3 separate regions of the Homo sapiens genome follow, and regions 1 and 3 are each linked to region 2. Evidence: promoter capture Hi-C in human tissues and cell types (Jung and others, 2019). All regions are on one chromosome and are shown on one strand. Each heading gives the region's core, a stretch centred on a gene start or on the middle of the fragment in contact. The rest is flanking DNA. Distances are from core to core; before and after follow the strand shown.

What was found. The method cuts DNA at HindIII sites, captures the fragments that hold promoters and counts their contacts. A contact is called where the count stands out against the background at its distance.
Region 1: a contact is called between the fragment with the promoter of TGFA here and the fragment with the promoter of SNRPG in region 2, in 1 of the 25 tissues and cell types used here (adrenal gland).
Region 3: a contact is called between a fragment that was not itself captured here and the fragment with the promoter of SNRPG in region 2, in 1 of the 25 tissues and cell types used here (hippocampus).

The regions. Positions count from the first base shown.
Region 1 is chr2:70,552,127-70,556,278 of GRCh38, forward strand. TGFA (transforming growth factor alpha) reads right to left here and starts at 1,700. Exons shown (of 6, transcript NM_003236.4): 1 at 1,602-1,700. The coding sequence starts at 1,641. It overlaps LOC124907824 (a long non-coding RNA gene), which reads left to right and starts at 582. Exons shown (of 2, transcript XR_007086906.1): 1 at 582-1,266. RefSeq lists a silencer at 1,761-1,830. The HindIII fragment of the contact is 16,400 bases long and covers 1-4,152 here.
Region 2 is chr2:70,291,565-70,295,504 of GRCh38, forward strand. SNRPG (small nuclear ribonucleoprotein polypeptide G) reads right to left here and starts at 2,176. Exons shown (of 4, transcript NM_003096.4): 1 at 2,054-2,176. The coding sequence starts at 2,085. It overlaps LOC124906023 (a long non-coding RNA gene), which reads left to right and starts at 2,338. Exons shown (of 2, transcript XR_007086880.1): 1 at 2,338-2,368; 2 at 3,494-3,940. RefSeq lists enhancers at 934-1,841, 1,858-2,337. The HindIII fragment of the contact is 9,687 bases long and covers 1-3,940 here.
Region 3 is chr2:69,932,033-69,935,948 of GRCh38, forward strand. MXD1 (MAX dimerization protein 1) reads left to right here. Exons shown (of 6, transcript NM_002357.4): 4 at 3,319-3,433. It also overlaps a transcript of ASPRV1 not described here. Among named protein-coding and RNA genes, the nearest start is that of MXD1, 19 kb to the left of the region's middle. The HindIII fragment of the contact is 4,255 bases long and covers 1-3,916 here.

The DNA.
Region 1 (4,152 bases), core at 450-2,949, 260 kb after region 2:
TTTCATATTCACATTCCTTCCACGTTCTTCGACAATCCTGGTCCAGTTACTTACTGTGGACCCTGTGTGCTTTACTTTCCTCTGCTATATAATGAGAATAATATTAACACCTTCTTTATCCGGTTGGTGTGAAAACTGCATGAATAAATGTAAAGCACTTGGACTGTGTCTGACACAGAGTAAAATGCTCGAATAGCATCAGCTGTTATTACTACTACTACTTACTACTATTATTTGCAAAAACATTACAAGGGATAATTATATCCAGGAAGCTTCCCTTGTATTGGTAATGTTTTATTGCTTTTTCTAAAATTTAAATCAGAGCAACAGTCAATACATGCACACAAAAAAGGCAATTCTTCAAAAATGTGGGGGAAAAGCCTCCCATACCCATGTTACCTGCTGGTGAGTTTCAGGTAAGGGTGTAGCTGGGAGCATCCGGTTCCAAGACTGCCTTGTATTTCTCTTACAGGATGCCTCCCCTTCTGCTGCGGTTTTTAATCAGCGTTTCTAGGGCAGGCTTGCAGGCGGGGCCGCGAACCCCCTGTAGTTGTACACGGAGCTGGGTGAGGCTGCGGCTCTGGGCATTTCTGGGGAGGAGTTCCATGGCTTTCCACAGACTCTAACCACCCTGCAGCGAGCCGCATGCTATACGGGTTAAACTCGGGGCATATCGAACGAACAATTCACTTCACGGAAGACTAGCAATAACCAGGACACCTGCGCTATTGATCAGCTATCTCAACACCAGAGAGACCCACCAGCACAAGGGGCAAGAATTGGCCAGGAGGCGCGCGGCGCTGCGCCCTCACCGCGTCCAGACAGACCCTTGAACTTCACCGCCAAAAAACGCACCGCTCCGCAGACCCGACCCGGGAGAGGGGTTTAACTTCCCCTCACCTTTCCCATCCCTCCTTCATTTCCAAGGACATACTCAAAGGAAACTGGCAACACTCGGTCTAGGGTTTCGCTCCTGCCCTCGGCGGACACCGAAACCACTTCTCCCAGGGAAGTTAATTAAAGGAACCATTAATCCGCCCAAAAATCCAAAACCTACCCCCAAAGCTCAAGAGCTCTGAAAAGAGATCGAGGGCGCCTCTGCCGATCTTGAACATCTCTGCTCGTCGCTGGGGCTTAGAGGTGGGCAGGGGGTGCCAAAGGGGCGCAGGCAAGACCCGGCCAGAGGGTTAGACGCCGGCCCCCGTTCCGAGGCGGCCCAGTCTACACGCCAGCGACGCCGGCTGAGCCGGGCTTGGAGGCAGCCAGGTAAGCAGGTAGGTGTAGGCATGTGTCTGAGCAGACACACAGCTGCGGCGGATTAAAGTTCAAGCCCGTTCACACTCCGCTTCCCCTTCCCAGGTGTTCTCACGCACGGCCCAGGCAGCCACTTTCCCGGGGAAGCCTCGGCGCTCGACCGGACAGTCCCCTCTTTGTCATTCTTAATGACTCCCCTTGCCTCCCAGGCGCCAACCCATTGAGACTACTCGCTTCTCTCCACTCTCCCAGGCGGGCGCAGAAACCCCCGGAAAGGGGAACTCGGCGGGGACCGGGGGAAGCAGGGTGTCGCGCGGCGCAGGGGGCGCCGCAGCCGGCGTACGTACCCAGAGCGAACAGGGCGAGCTGTCCAGCCGAGGGGACCATTTTACGGGCGGGCGGGCAGCAGGCTCTCCAGCCTCCTGCCCTACCTGCGGTGCCCGAGTGGCGGAGCGGCGCCGCGGTGCGGGGGAAAAAGACGCAGACTAGGCAGGGCCTGCCCCCGGCGCGGGAGGGCGGAGGGAGGACCGAGCGCCTCTCTGCTGGCACTCGCCCCGCAGCGCTGCCCGCCGGGCGGAAATAGGAAGGCGGCTACCGTCACCTCCTCGCCACTCGGCGACCGGGGCACAGCTGACCCCCCCCTCCCGCCCCGATGGGGGTGCCCCCCTGAGGGCACAGAGGGTGGGGGTTTGGGGTAAGGGGCGGGGACGCTGAGCGCACCGAGCAGGGCGCGGGCTGCTGGGCGGGGCGACCTGGGATCCCAGAGCCTGGCGGCGCGAGCCGGGCACCCGGGCCGACGAAAAGGCAGGAAGCGCCTGACTTCAGACACCACCCCCGACTGCCAGCGCCGTGCGGCAGCGGACTCCAGCGTGCGGGGTCGGCGCCGGCCGCGTAGCCGGATTGTCCTGGGCCGCAGTGGCGGCTTCCAGGCTCTAGGCGGCGGAGCGGAGCCGCCCGGGCACCCGTTACCTACACCGAGGGGCCGCTCCTGGGGCATCTCTGGGGCGGGGAAGGCTGGAGGCTGGGGACGCAGCCAGGAAAGGGACCTGTGAGTTTCGCCGGCCGCTTGCCAAGACTTGGCTCAAGGAAAGTGGTCCCCTGAATCAATGAAGAATTTGTTAAACCAGGTTTCCCACCTGTGCCACAGTTCCCATCAATTCTGGCAACGCCTGCCGCCTTACCTCCCAGGCAGGCCACATCGTTAAGATCAGTCTTCGTACTTCTGGCCTGGGACTGATAAAAAATGGGTCTCTGTGACGAATCTGGTTATATGGCACCACCAGCTGAGGCCAAAAGCCTGCTAGCCTGCCACCAAGTGTACCCCGAAAGAGGGGTGTGTGGGCCCGAGTCACCTGGGTGGTCCTTTCAGGATTTGTGGCTCTGAGGTGGCCCCTGGTGCTGGAATTTGGGGAGGTGGAGGGGATAGAGGGAAGACATTCTGGGCGAAGAGTGGAAGATCCATAGGTTCCTCGGTGACCCTCATGGGGACAGTACACCCGGGAGATTCATGTTCTCCAGGTACCCGGAGCTCACGGACTGACCCTCTTCTCCTGCCTCCTCTGGCCTACGTGCTCCGGGTAGATCCACTTTCCTTGAAGGTGGGGGTGGGGGCTGTTGGGCCTGGGGAATCTTTTGCTGTTTACTTGGGGAGGCTCAGGCTCTCACGGTTGACCTCTGCCCAGTTTGTTTCATGTAAGTAGAGCAACCTAGTTTCAAGAAGGAAGCACCAGGCCATTGGTCTCAACATTTGGGCAGGAAGCACCAGTGTAAATCATTCCTTTCAATAGATTTGTCGGAGCATACTTTGTTCTTTTAGGGTAAATCTTTTCCTTGGTCCACCCCATGCATGTACAAGGCACACATGCACTTCCTTTAGTAGGTTGTCCCTGACTCCCACTTCCTTCAGGTTGATCTTGACCTGCTCTGGTGGTTTCCCTGTCTCCTCCCTAAACTAGTCTGCTTTGGCTACAGAAGGGGAGGAATCAGGGGTTCCCCCACCCTTCTCCTGTTCCCCAGGACTAGAGAAGGACCTGACTCCTTGCTTCCTACTGGAACACGCAAATCAAGCTCACTGTGGCTGAGGGATGGCTGCCCAGCCGGCTGAGGGTCATGTTCAGCAGTTTCTGCTTATCTGTCCCCTACCCCCAAAGTCAGAGGTGGAGGGAAGTAGCAGAATCAAGTCAATTTCCTTCATGATTGGAAAATATTTTAAATCAAGAGGTAACTTGCAGGCCAGGCATGGTGGCTCACACCTGTAATACCATCACTTTGGGAGGCTGAGGTGGGTGGATTGCTTGAGCTCAGGAGTTCGAGACCAGCCTGGGCAACATGGTAAAACCCCCCATTTCTACTAAACATACAAAAAATTAGCCAGACATGGTGGCGTGCGTCTGTAGTCCCAGCTACTTGGGAGGCTGAGGCACGAGAATCACTTGAACCTGGGAGGCAGAGGTTGCAGTGAGCCAAGATTGTGCCACTGCACTCCAGCCTGGATGACAGAACAAGACTCTGTCTCAAAAAAAAAAAAAAAAGAAAAAAAGAGATGGCCGGGCGCGGTGGCTCACGCCTGTAATCCCAGCACTTTGGGAGGCCGAGGCGGGCGGATCACGAGGTCAGGAGATCGAGACCATCCCGGCTAAAACGGTGAAACCCCGTCTCTACTAAAAATACAAAAAAAATTAGCCGGGCGTAGTGGCGGGCGCCTGTAGTCCCAGCTACTTGGGAGGCTGAGGCAGGAGAATGGCGTGAACCCGGGAGGCGGAGCTTGCAGTGAGCCGAGATCCCGCCACTGCACTCCAGCCTGGGCGACAGAGCGAGACTCCGTCTCAAAAAAAAAAAAAAAAAAAAAAAAAGAAAAAAAGAGATAACTTGCCATCTTACAAACTAAAGAGTATCCAA
Region 2 (3,940 bases), core at 926-3,425:
CCTACTCCCCATTTAAGAACACCTGAGTTATGCTACACCAGAAGGAGGGCATAATGGTGTAAAAGAAGATGCTATCTGTGAGAAAGCAGAGGAAGAAAAAATTTTTAAGTCATTTTGGCGGCAGATCTGACCGGATTTCACAATTCATGAAACCTACGAGGAAGAGAAAGGTATTAAAACTAGCTTCCTTCTCTGAAATTTTCAAAAACTATGTTATGAATCAGAAAGAAAATCTTAGATTACAAGTAGAGAATGGTCTTTTTGTTAAAAAAAAAAAAATCACCATTTCACCAGTCCCTGATGAATCCAGAGGATACTTACATCACCAAAAATAACTTTCAGATAAAAAGAGTAATTTTCACAATAATTTCTGAGTAACTTCTATTTTTTTTTTTTTTTTTGAGACGGAGTCTCGCTCTGTTGCCCAGGCTGGAGTGCAGTGGCGCGATCTCGGCTCACTGCAAGCTCCGCCTCCCGGGTTCACGCCATTCTCCTGCCTCAGCCTCCCGAGTAGCTGGGACTACAAGCGCCCGCCACCAAGCCCACGTAATTTTTTGTATTTTTATAGACACGGGGTTTCACCGTTTTAGCCATGATGATCTCCATCTCCTGACCTCGTGATCCGCCCGCCTCGGCCTCCCAAAGTGCTGGGATTACAGGCGTGAGCCACCGCGTTGGGCTTATGTTTTAATAATTAATTCCTTAACAGACCTAACTAAAATATACATAGAAGTAGTTTTCATACAAAAGATGGCTTTGATACAAATGGACCTTTAAATGCAAAAATATTATTATTTTTTGAAACAGAGTTTCGGTCTTGTTACCCAGGCTGGAGGGCAATGGCGCGATCTTGACTCACTGCAACCTCCGCTTCCCGGGTTCAAGCGATTCTCCTGCCTCAACCTCCGGAATAGCTGAGACTACAGGCGCACACCACCTGCCTGGCTAATTTTTTGTATTTTTAGTAGAGACGGGGGTTTCACCATGTTGGCCAGGCTGGTCTCGAACTCCTGACCTCAGGTGATCCTCCCGCCTCAGCCTCCCAAAGTGCTGGGATTACAGGCGTGAGCCACTGTGCCCGGCCGCAAAATTATTAAATAGGAACTTTACCTTTTGTCTGACTTCCATGGGCCTGGTAATAAATGAACTAACTATACACAAAGCCAACCACATGCTACGCCAGAAAAAACTGATCCCTGTAAAAATTTTGCATCCTTTGTGCAATCCAACTAATACATGTAGAATTCCAGCATCAGGAAGTATAAGCAAAACAGAAACGTAGTCAGGAAACACATAACCTGTTAAGTCCACTCAAAAAGTATTTGAGGAATTCAAAGCTTTACGTTGAGTCCTACCTAAAGTAAGGCTCTCCTACTTAAAGTTGTTTGACTTTACTGGGTGTGTAGAAAAAACTTCAAAAAATTAGCCTTCTCTGACTAGAAAAAATTAATGTTCTTAAAAAAAAAGAAAAATGAATGTTCTTATATAGTTTCAACATCAGAGCAAGATAACACATGACATTCAAGCTTAACGTAAAAGAAGGCAAGAAAAAGGAATGAGGTTTCTAAGTAAAAGCTCAAACACCTACAAACACATTTGCTAAGACTAAAGTGGCTTTCGGATTCTGATGCCTCACGTAGTTTTAAAAACACTTCCTTCCCTTCCAGCCCCTCCTTAGTTCCTTCAGAGAATTTCCCCCTCTAGCCGTCTATCTAGAACATGATACTATTCGAGATGTTCAACAAAAGGTAGCACTGGAGATCTTCAAGGAACGAGGGACAGCGCCGGGTGACCAGGGGCCAGACCGCGGGACCTGGAGACTAGTCGGCCGGAAGGAGGTGCCGTGGCTGCCGGCTGTAACCACACCGACGCGCGAGCTCTGCGCGGGCTTCACGTCTCATGCGCGGGAGCCTGGCCGGGATCCCGGCGACCTCGGACCGGAAGAAGAAATGAAGTGAAGCGGCTCAAGACATTCGGCTAACGGAGAGGGAACCAAGGGACTCGCAGGACGCAAATAACTGACCACTTCGGTTTGGCTCTCACACATACTTACTTTTTCAACTCGGGAGGGTGAGCTTTGCTCATGGTGTATACTCCGCGGGCTCACAGATGCCTTGGAACGCAACGCACGGCTTTCCTCACGCTCCCGCTGTAGGCCCGGCGTCTTGCGTCTGGCGTCATCGACCTCGTTAGCCAATGGATTGTTGGCAGTTTTTACATTTCACCTCGCGATATCTCAGCGCCTCGGTCATCGTTGAGCTTCCGGTTATGTCCTCAGCGATTGGCCAGGACGGAGGGGTGCGTCCTCTAGGCACCTTTCTGAATTCCGTTTTCCTTGTACAAAATTGAGATAACGGGTATTCCACCGGTGGGTATCCCTGCTCTTTTTCTTTTCTTTTTGAGACGGAGTCTAGCTCTGTCGCCCAGGCTGGAGTGCAGTGGCGCGATCTCGGCTCACTGCAAGCTCCGCCTCCCGGCCTCACGCCATTCTCCTGCCTCAGCCACCCGAATAGCTGGGACTACAGGCGCCCGCCACCATGCCCGGCTAATTTTGTGTATTTTTTAGTAGAGACGGGGTTTCGCCGTGTTAGCCAGGATGGTCTCGATCTCCTGACCTCGTTATCCGCCCGCCTCGGCCTCCCAAAGTGCTAGGATTACAGGCGTGAGCTACCGCGCCCAGCCGGTTATCCCTGCTCTTGTCTATGGAACAGCCAAAATAAATAAAAATAAATAAATAAATAAAAAAAGCCGGGCGCCGTAAATCCCAGAACTTTGGATCTCTTGAGCCCAGGAGTTCGAGACCAGCCTGTGCAACATAGCGAGACCCCTTCTCTATTTAAAAAATAAAATTGAGATATTGAGATAACGGTCCCGTCTCTAGCTCCTGGGCAAACCCGGCCAATCCCGCATGTCTGTGGATCGTATCGCTTATTTTCTTCATATATACCAATATACCAAATGATAATGATCCCTGGAGGAATGGGCCTCTCTCTATATATGTATATTTTTTTGAGACGGAGTCTTGCTCTGTCGCCCAGGCTGGAGTGCAGTGGCGCGATCTCGGCTCACTGCAAGCTCTGCCTCCCGGGTTCACGCCATTCTCCTGCCTCAGCCTCCCGAGTAGCTGGGACAACAGGTGCCCGCCACCACGCCGGGCTGATTTTTTGTATTTTTAGTAGACACCGTATTTCACTGTGTTAGCCAGGATGGTCTTGATCTCCTGACCTCGTGATCCGCTGGCCTCGGCCTCCCAAAGTGCTGGGATTACAGGCGTGAGCCCCCGCTCCCGGCTGGGCCTCTATATTTTTTTGGCAGGTAACCCTACAGCATACTGTCAGACCAAGTAGGGTTCCCGTAACATGTAAATTAGCAGCCTCTGAACCATTGTAGAGTAAGGTGACTGGGTCTGTCTCCAAGAATTTGAATCTATTTCTGACTGAGGGGTCTTGCAAAAAAAATTTTTTTTGAGATGAGTTCTTGCTCTGTCGCCTAGGCTGGGGAGCATGGTGTGATCATGGCTCACTGCAACCTCGAACTCCTGGCCTCAAGCAATCCTTCCACCTCAGCCTCCTGAGTTGTTGAGACTACAGGCGCACGCCACTGCACCCAGCTAATTTTTTTTTGTAGAGACGAGGTCTTGCTTTGTTGCCCAGGCTGTTCTCAAATTCCTGGCCTCAAGAGATCTGCCTGCCTCCGGCTCCCAAAGTGCTGAGATTACAGGGGTTAGCCAGCATGCCTGGGAATTCTGAAATTTTTCAAACACTACCTCCAGAACTCACTGATGTGCTATTGCCCCTGTATATAAAATGTGAAGTGCAGCACACAAACATTTTCTAATATAAGGTGTTCTTTTTTCATGTCAAGATGTGTAAAAAGTGGTCTCGGACTTGTTCCCAGTTGTTACCCCAAAATTATAGAAGACTAAACCAAAATAGAATAC
Region 3 (3,916 bases), core at 586-3,085, 360 kb before region 2:
GCAAAACCCCTGCTAGTTCCCCAAATGGGAGTTTGACCTGGTTTAAAATGGGACAGCAGGGCACAGGAGTAGTCAGAACTGAGAAAAGAGAGCTGAGACGGGTGTTTGTTCTGCTTGTTTTGGATCTGGGAGCTCCGTGGGTACTCAGGGCTGGCAGAGGGATTCTAGATCCCAGGAGTTTGTGTGTCTGTATGTGTGTCTGTGTATGTGTGTGTGTGTCAGGGTTGGAGAGCTTTGGTAGGAGCTGTACATAACAGAGGGGTCTGTTTGCTTTTTTATCTGGTTCAGGGATTGGATTTCACTACTGTATGATAGAACTGAGTCTACTTAATATATTTCATTGCTCTCCTGTGGTTGGCCCGGGCACCAGTGTGGGGATGTCTGCAGGCAGTGGCATGTGGGCAGGGGGCAGCCATCAGGCTGCAGCAGTGAGGCGCCGGAGAAGGCCAAGGCAGACACTGCCAAAGACAGAGTTGGCTTTGGGTCTCTGCAAAAATCCAGAAAGAATTCTGGTCCTATTTTTGTAGAACTAGGCCAGAAAACACTGAATGAACAAGTATTAGTCTCAGCTGGAATTAGTCAAATGGCTTATTTCTAGTTTCACGACTAGGAGTGTTCTTTGGAAACCCACATTTGGGTAGTGAAAATTGCACTTTCTGGGCAAGACTCCTATAAGGCTAGAAATGACAATGCATCAAAAGATGACTTTATTATATTTTTATCAGTGGACAAACTTCCTAAAAAAATTCACACACTCATATCTGCATATAAACCAACATCATAAAAGTACTAAAATGACACTGTTCTGAATCATGCAGTCTTTGCAAATAACAAGCTGGCTGAAAAATATCTAAATATAATTTTAATTTTTGAACTTTTTCTTCTAATTGGAAAATTAGCTCATACCTGTAATCCCAGCACTTTGGGAGGCTGAGGCAGGCAGATTGCTTGAGGTCAGGAGTTCGAGACCAGCCTGGCCAACATGGTGAAACCCCATCTCTGCTAAAAATACAAAAATTAGCCGGACGTGGTGGCGGGCGCCTGTAATCCCAGATACTCAGGAGGCTGAAGAAGGAGAATCTGTTGAGCCTGGGAGGCAGAGGTTGCCATGAGCTGAGATCACGGCACTGTACTCCAGCCTGGGCGACAAGAGCAAGAACTCTGTCTCAAAAAAAAAAAAAAAAAAAAAAAACAAAAAAAGAAAATTAGTCTATAAGTTTTATGGCAAGAAATAGACAAATTTATAAATGTATAAATTATACTTTCTCATAGTGTTTCTAATAACATGATCTATTTTCATGGCTCTTTTTGAAGAATATTATCCAAGATGAACAAGTATATTTTACATACAAGTTTTCTTCCCTTCCCTGGTCCCCACCACATGCAGTAGTGGGAGGAGCACACCTGTAACATGAGTCTTTGCTCTGACTCTGCCACATGGACAGGTTTTTCAGAAGAAGTGAAAGACTTACAAAATAGTAAAGCCCTTGTGCTATTACCTCTTCCTAGCTCAGAAATGAATGCTGTACTCCCCAAGCTTGCCAAGCCTTAGAGCACCCTTGGAGAGTTTAGGACAACTTCCTCATGACCTAGAAGAGGCAGGAGGCTCAGAAGGAAGGAAGTCTAATGCCTTGCTTACTAGCCCTGCCTTAGGGGAACATCCTGAAGTCTCCCTGGAGAGTGTGAATTGACTTCTTACATTAATATCATGCATATTCACCTGTCCTATAGCTTTCTGAAGCCATTTCCTTTCTTTGGTCTATATTTTCAACTTTTGCTATTACAGTACAATTCTTAAGAGGAAAAAGGGCAAACCTATAAGGCATTGCATTGTTTCCCAATTCAGCTGGAGGGGAGCCTCCTAGACCCCAGGGAACTCTGCTCCAAGTAGGTTGTGTGTGGGCAATGAATGTTATCTAAAACCTGAAGACTCTGAGCACTGCTGAAGGTGCAAAGATGCAGTAGAGATGGACTCTGTCCTCTAGAAGCTTAAAGTCTAGTTGAATAGATGACATAATCCATTCAGCAAACACTTATTAAGCATGTGTGTGTTTGAGGCACGGTGACAGCACAGCAATGATTAAGCTGCAATCCTGACTTTCTAAGGAGACTGCAATGAATGGTTAAGTAAGAAATATGAAACAAGTCAGGCAGTACAGTGAACTTCCCAGTGAATAATATAAACAGTTAAGTGGTGCTTAGAAAATAGAGGAATCACTGTGAGCTAGGATGGCTTGGGAAGGCTTTAAGGAGGTGGTAAGCTTAAGCAAAACCCCCAAATCTCAGCTGCTTCTTACATTCATAGAATTTTCCAGGTTCTAGAATAAAGCACAAACCATTTCAAGGAAATGTAAATTTCTCAGTTGGAGCAACTCTCGTGCTCTCTCTTCAGTCAGTTGCCGTGGCTGCTGCTTCATCCAGCCCTTCTCCCTCTCCCACTCCGTGCCATTGCATCAGTCTGACATACTCCAAGAACAAAAAGTATAAAAAATGACTCAGTAAAAACCCCCATCACTTCCTTCCTTATCTCTGTCTGACTGTTCCTTGCCTTCTCCCTGCCCAGCCAGTTTCTTATGTGTCATTCCAGAGTTTGTCTACATACAAGAAAACATGAATATAGATTCTTGTTTTCCTCCATCTTTAAGATAGCATGGTATACTCACAGTTTGGAATCTTGCTTTTCTCCACTTAACAATATATCTGGAAAATCTTTCCTAATAGGACATAAAGCACATTCTCATTCTTTTTGATAGCTACATAGTACTACACGGTGTGGATGTAGCATAATTTATTTAACCAGTTCCCTCCTGGGTGGTCATTTGGGTTGTTTCAATCTTTGCTATTACAAATAAAGCTTCAACAAATAACTCCACAGATATATATGCTCCTTGACTTATGATGGGGTTATGTCTCAAGAAGCCCATCATAAATAAAAAACATCCCAAGTCTAATATGCATTTAATACTTCAATAAACTCATTATAAATTTAAAAAATTGTAAGTTGAACCATCATGAGTCAGGGACCATTACTGTATATAGTATTTACACATGTGAATGACTATATAATAGCAGATATTATTCCCTACCCCAGCACTTGTATTATCAATAGACTTAGCTTCGAAAACCTTGGATTTTGCTTCTCATTGGTTTTCACCAGAGTTGTCTGGTTCAAAATATGTTTATTCAGCAAAAGGTCATTGGTAGCATTTGCCATCGCAAGGCCTGGGCAACTTCACACTCTTTGAGAACTCATTCTGCCTGGGGTGCTTCTGGCCCACTGTGAAACTCTCAAATGCTACTGTGGTCTTGTTTTCATAGACGGGCTCATCTTCGCTTGTGCCTGGAGAAGTTGAAGGGGCTGGTGCCACTTGGACCCGAATCAAGTCGACACACTACGTTGAGTTTATTAACAAAAGCCAAATTGCACATAAAGGTAAGTGTATTGTTGGGATGCTGCTTTATCTTTACCTGTTCAGTGAGGGTTTGTCTGTTGTTACATCTCCAGGACAGTCCTCTCCCCTGAACTCCTCCAGTCTAGCTATTGGATGAATCACAGGTACCTCAAATGCAACATATTCAAAACCCAACTGAGTGTTTCTCACTCCCATGCACCAGAGGTTAAATGGTCCATCCAACTCTCCATCCAGTTGTACAAGCCAGAAATTCAGGAGTCCGTGATAGCTCCTGCTCCTTAACCATATATCTAGGCCATCTCCAAGGCCTAAATATTTTGCAACCGGTCTACTTCCATCTTCATCCCCACTGTCTACTGCAATAAAATCCTCAGAGGTCTCCCTATATCCCTCTGGGTCCCTCCCGTCTGCTTTCCATGCTTCCTGAGAACAGTCCTTCCAAGGTGCAAATCAACACGTGACCTTGTTTAAAATTCTTCTGTGGCTCAGGACAAGCTCTGTCA